2 separate regions of the Homo sapiens genome follow, and region 1 is linked to region 2. The links are contacts of gene promoters, found by promoter capture Hi-C in blood cells and fetal thymus (Javierre and others, 2016). All regions are on one chromosome and are shown on one strand. Each heading gives the region's core, a stretch centred on a gene start or on the middle of the fragment in contact. The rest is flanking DNA. Distances are from core to core; before and after follow the strand shown.

What was found. The method cuts DNA at HindIII sites, captures the fragments that hold promoters and counts their contacts. A CHiCAGO score of 5 or more calls a contact.
Region 1: a fragment that was not itself captured here is called in contact with the fragment with the promoter of HKDC1 in region 2 in 3 of 17 cell types (naive CD4 T cells, activated CD4 T cells and M0 macrophages); the score reaches 5.9 in naive CD4 T cells.

Annotation. Positions count from the first base shown.
Region 1 is chr10:69,496,961-69,499,896 of GRCh38, forward strand. It overlaps TSPAN15 (tetraspanin 15), which reads left to right. Exons shown (of 8, transcript NM_012339.5): 5 at 1,320-1,436. Among named protein-coding and RNA genes, the nearest start is that of TSPAN15, 47 kb to the left of the region's middle. The HindIII fragment of the contact is 1,941 bases long and covers 465-2,405 here.
Region 2 is chr10:69,218,766-69,221,747 of GRCh38, forward strand. HKDC1 (hexokinase domain containing 1) reads left to right here and starts at 1,567. Exons shown (of 18, transcript NM_025130.4): 1 at 1,567-1,733. The coding sequence starts at 1,671. All of the region lies in intron 4 of LOC101928994 (a long non-coding RNA gene), which reads right to left. The HindIII fragment of the contact is 4,258 bases long and covers 1-1,998 here.

The DNA of each region.
Region 1 (2,936 bases), core at 185-2,684, 280 kb after region 2:
CTTGCTTGGTGCCAGGTCCAGTGCTGAGTGCTTCATGCATGGCACTCTATGTAATCACAGCTCAGCTGTGCAGAGCTGCCATCCTTATTCTTGCTTTACAGACAACCATCTGAGGCTCAGAGAGGCTGACCAACTTGCCTGAGGTTGCACAGCAGGGAGTGGTGGTCTGAGGATTTGACCTTGGGTCTGTTCCATTGCAAGACAAATGCCCTTTGAACTACATTGCAGAAAGACAGTTCTAGGTCCCAAAACCTGGTGGCTTAAGGGGCACTGTGGGGACTCTGAAAGGTGTCTGGCTACCAGGACGTGTACTGCAGCCCTGGTTGAGCCCTCCAGTCCCAGCTCCCTGCTTCAGCTGGCTGGCAAAGCTTTGCATGGTCCAGCCTGTGCCGCCCTTTCATCCTCATGCTCTGCACTCTCTCTGTTCCAGGCTTGTTGGCCTCCGCACCTGCTGCTGAAATACAAGCTTGTTTCTGCGTGGGGCCTTTGCATGGGTCGTCTGGCTTCTTTCTGTTTCCATGTTTCAGATGAAATATCCTCTCTACAAAGAGCCCTTTCATGACCTGCCAACCTAGAGCTGCCCCTCCCCACTTTCCCCCTATTTCTCCATTTCCAGGTTGCACAGCACCTTTCCATCCAGTGCTCACTCTCTGTCTCTCCACTGGAATGTGTTCCACCTGAGCAAGGGCTGCCTTGCTTTTGCTCACCCTGTCTCTCCAGTGCCCAGGACAATGCCAGGCACATACCAGCCATCAGGAGGGTTACCAACTACTTCCTACAGGAGCAGGGAGGGGAGGCAGGGAGGGGCTCGGCTAAGGGGAGAGCTCCAGGCAGGTTGTGAGGTGTGGGTGCTCTCCTTGCTAAGGGCAGGGCCAGCTGAGCTGGACGGGGTGGCTCCTAGGGTGGGTGCGAAGGTTGGTTGAGGTGCAGGGACTTTCACAGAATCATGCTTGGTCTCTGGGACTTTAAGGGCCATCTTTTCCAGCCTAGCACCTGCATTTGGGGACACGAAGATGAAGAAAGTGGAGGCCAGTTGTCAAGGAAGGACCTTTCCTCCCAGTGCCTAGTCACTACCCTGATATCCCACCAAGAGGCAGCCCAGCCTTGGCTTCCATACCTCTCTAGTGACAGGGGGTTCACTACCCTCTAGGCAGCCATGCCACACTTTGACAGCTCTGACTTGAAAGTGTACAGCCTCTCCCTGCCCCAGGGTGACCCACATAATAAACTGCCTCCGTCTCCTGACAGGGCCCCTTCCTGTCGTCTGAGCAGGGCCTGGGCGATGACGGCAGCTCCTCTTTCCTGCTTGCTTCCCTCAGTTCAAGTGCTGTGGCGGGGAGGACTACCGAGATTGGAGCAAGAATCAGTACCACGACTGCAGTGCCCCTGGACCCCTGGCCTGTGGGGTGCCCTACACCTGCTGCATCAGGAACACGGTAGACACTGCTCCTGTGGGGACTGGGGGGCTGTCGGGGACCCCAGGTGGTATAAATGTTCTCTTTTCTCTCTTCCCAACTTGAAGATGGGTGGTGTGGGTGGATGGCAGGGAAGTAGGAGTTGGTGGCAGAGCGGAGGCTTTCCTGATTCTCAAGGGCTCCTGAAAGTGGAGCTTCTGGGGGTCGGGGGTAGGGAGACCATGTCTTTCTTAGTGGTGTTGGTTAAAATCTATTGAGCACCTACCTTGTGCAGGCCTGCTCTGGGCACTTTGGTGGTATTTACTCATTTAGTATTCACGACAACCCTGTGAGGTATGTACTGTTATTTTACCCACTTTACAGATGAGGAAATTGAGGCACTCAAAGGCTGGGTGTCTTGCCCAAGGTTGGCAGGGCTGGGATGAAGTGCAGGCAGCTGTTGCCTGAGCTACACTCTGGAGAACTGTGCAGGCCAGGTGAGGGCAGGAGGGAGAGGTGCCCAGGCCAGGGGAGCTTAGCGGGGGTAGCTGGCTCTGCAGCATTAGTGGAGGCAGGCAGGACCTGCACCTTGGGCATCTCCATTGGTCTTTGGCCTTGAGGTCCTGGTGATCATCAGCAGCAGAGTGCTTGGAAGGGGGTCTGGTGACGTAAATGCCATCCTCTTCCTCTCCCCAGCACGATCCTCTCGGGTCTGTCACCTTGGTCATTTGGGATGATGTCTTGTGTTGTCAGCGCTTAAGTGAAAGGCTTCATCAGTCCTTGTGTTTGACAAATGTGTCCAGAAACTGTTTCAGGATTGGAACGAGGTGGAGAGCTTTGCAATTACTCATGGCCCAGATAGTCATGGAAAGTTTTTCTCCTGACATTGCCACCATTCTGTGCCCACTGCTGGATTCTGTAAACTGAGCAGCTGCGGGTGGGGGCCTCGCCCATGAGTCAGAGAGCCAGTGCCAAGTGCACTAGCTCTAAAAAAGGCCGGGCCAGGAGGGAAGCTTTGTTTGGAAGTGTTAGCTGCCATTTTAGGGTAGTTCTCTGGGAAGTGGGGTGCTGAGGAGTAGCAGAGTTTCCAGAGAGGCCTGCGTGGGGTGATCCTGAACCTCATCACCCAGGGCAGCAGCATCTGAATACCTAAGCTGAGATGTGGAAGCCAAACTTGTATTCATTCATTCATTCATTCATTCAACAAATATTGGCTGAGAACCTACTCTATGCCAGACACATTTCCAGGTTCTGGGGGTGTAGCAAACAAAGTCTCTGCCCGCAAGGAGGTGACATCCTAGTGGAGAAAACTGACAAACAAAATAAGTAAAAGATAGAGGATCATAAATGCTGAGTAGAAAAAGAAAGTAGGGCATGGAGGATTGCAGTTTGGGATACTGAGAAAGGCGGGATCTGGGTGAAGCTCTGAAGAAAGTGAGGAAGGTGTCTGGGGGAGGGGCATTCCTGGCAGCAAGAACAGCTGTGCAAAGGCCCCAGGTGGGAATCACCCCAGGGCGTTTGAGAAATGCACAGAGTGGCTGG
Region 2 (2,982 bases), core at 317-2,816:
GCTTTGTGATCACGTAACCTTTCTGGGCCTCAATTTTTTCATCTATAAAATAAGAGTGGGCCGGGAGCAGTGGCTCATGCCTGTAATTCCAACACTTTGGGAGGCTGAGGTGGGTAAATCGCTTGAGCCCAGGAATTCAAGACCAGCCAGGGCAACATGGCAAAACCCTATCTCTACAAAAATACAAAAATTAGCTGGGCATGGTGCCACGTGCCTGTAGCCCCAGCTACCCTGGGGATTGAGATGGGAGGATCACCTGAGCCCAGAAGGCTGATGTTGCAGCGAGTCATGATTCCACGACTGCATTCCAGCCTGGGGGATGAATGAGACCCTGTCTAAAAAATAATAATAACAAGAGTAATAAAAACAAAATGGGATTGGTAAATGCTCCATCCATGTTAGCCGCTGTTGTTAACGCTGTTGTTATTGGTTTCATTAGCCAGCCAGTGACTGTGGGAAGAGTGCAAGGTTGATTGTACCCATGTATTGGGTGCTTTCTGGGTCCTTCTCATGTCAAGTATGATGAGTGAGAAGTGAGTGAATAAAACATCTCAGTGGCCTGAGACATTTCTCTTTTTTTTCTTTTTTTGAGATGGAGTTTTGCTCTTGTCACCCAGGCTGGAGTGCAATGGCGCGATCTCGGCTCACTGCAACCTCTGCCTCCCAGGTTCAAGTGATTCTCCTGCCTCAGCCTCCCAAGTAGCTGGGATTACAGGCACCTGCCACCACTCCTGGCTAAGTTTTTTGTATTTTTAGTAGAGATGGGGTTTCACCATGTTGGCCAGGCTGGTCTCGAACTCCTGACCTCATGATCTGCCTGCCTCGGCCTCCCCAAGTGCTGCGATTGTTACAGGCGTGAGTCACTGCACCCGGCTGGACTGAGACATTTCTTATCTGTGACTTCCTTCTCTCCAGCAGTGATTCCCAGTGAGCACTGGTGACTTCAGTTCACTCTTTCTCAGGAATATTTTTTCCTGGGTCACTACCTGTGAACTAAAGATTTTCTGGCTTAACACTGTGAATAGGTAAACATTTATTGATCATTTTCTGTTAACCATGGGCTATTAGTTAAGAGATCTGATCTGTCACAAATGGAAGAATCTGCCCCAACATTCTTGAAATCCCATTGACCAGGACAATGTTTAGTTTTAGTTAGTTCAGTGCTTCTGAGGAGCAGGGGGTCACAGAGTTATGCCACTGGCATAAAAAACTAAAGAGAAAAGCCTGGGACTGGAAATTTGCAGAGCAGCTCCACCGGTTGAAAGTTGGCTTTGTTTAGTGCCCAACTTCGCAGAAGATTTTCCTCGGCTGAGTGGGCTTGGCAGAGCCCCGGCTTGAGAGGGTTGCTTAGCAATGAGATTTGGTGGCACCCAATTCTCAAGTAGTCAAGCAACCCATCAATACCCTGCTTCCCCCTCCACTAAACCTCAGCTACCATCCAGAGCCTCCTATTAGACAATCAAGTGTGTGCCAGAGGGAGGGACCAAAGGGGTGGGGTGGGGGGGAGTTTAATCATTGAACCAAGCAGGCTGGAGGTATTTAGTCCGCAACACCTCGCTCCCCAGGAGGTCTGCCAGCCTGGACTGGAAGCGTGCAACACTCCAGAGTCGTAGGAGTGAACACTGCACAGGAATCTCTGCCCATCTCAGGAGAAACCAAACTTGGGGAAAATGTTTGCGGTCCACTTGATGGCATTTTACTTCAGCAAGCTGAAGGAGGACCAGATCAAGAAGGTAAGGAGGACCCACGAAGCTGAGAGATGCCCAGCTCCTTCTTCACGGACAAAACTGATTCCCTTAAAAAAAAAATCAGAAGGGAGTGAAGAGAGCTTATTAGAAAAGATACTGGGAGCATATGACCAGTAAAAGACTCACTGAGGGAAGAGGGAGTAATTCTCCCACACTCCTGGGCATTGCATTACTGTCCTGAACCTTACACTTCACTCGGAACTTCCTGGCAGGTATTGGATGCGGAAGCGGGTGAGGAGGGTGTTTGGAAAGCTTGAAGAGGATTGTGTTTGCTGTAAGGGATGTTTGCTCGGAAAGGCCACAAAGGCGAGGAGAATCATTTTCAAAGAAGTTTTAAGAACTGTTGGAGCAGAAGGCTGGGCGCAGTGGCTCACGCCTGTAATCCTAGCACTTTAGGAGGCCGAGGTGGGCGGATTACCTGAGGTCAGGAGTTCGAGACCAGCCTGGCCAACATGGTGAAACCCCGTCTCAACTAAAAATACAAAAATTAGCTGGGTGTGGTGGCGGGCACCTGTAATCCCATCTACTCGGGAGGCTGAGGCAGGAGAATCGCTTGAACCCAGGTGGTGGAGGTTGCAGTGAGCCGAGATCGCGCCATTGCACTCCAGCCTAGGGGACAAGAGTGAGACTTCATCTAAAAAAAAAGAACTGTTGGGGCAGATCTGTTTGTTCATGTATTTGAAAGCATATAAATGTGGGCAGCAAGAAGGTGTGAGTTGCAATAGACAGTAATTGAAATATCTATTATTGGCACCTGCTATTTGCCAATGGTACACTATTCATGGTGTGCATTATTTTGTCACTTTGCTCAGGGAACTTGTCTACAAAATTCATTCCAAAGTGGGCTGGTTAAAGGTTGCCAAGGGTCAACAGGAGGGAACCAGGGTTCTTTCCAGGCAGCTAAAATGAGCCCAGTCTGCTACTCTGGCCACACCGGCTGGCTGTCACGGCCCTGGGCAAAAAGCATCTCTCAAAGTGCAGATGACAGAAGTCCTCCTAGCAGGAGGACTTAGCCAAGGTCACCAAGTATTTAGGATGGAATGAGGATTAAATCCAAGTTGGCTGACTCTTCCTTCAATGCTTTCTGCTGTGCCATGACTCCCTCCTGCTTTACAAAATGAATAAGGAGGCCAGGCACCGTGGCTCACGGCTGTAATCTGCATACACTGGGAGGCTGAGATGAGCAGATCTCATCTCAAACTTGAGGTCAGGAGTTTGAGACCAGCCTGGGCAA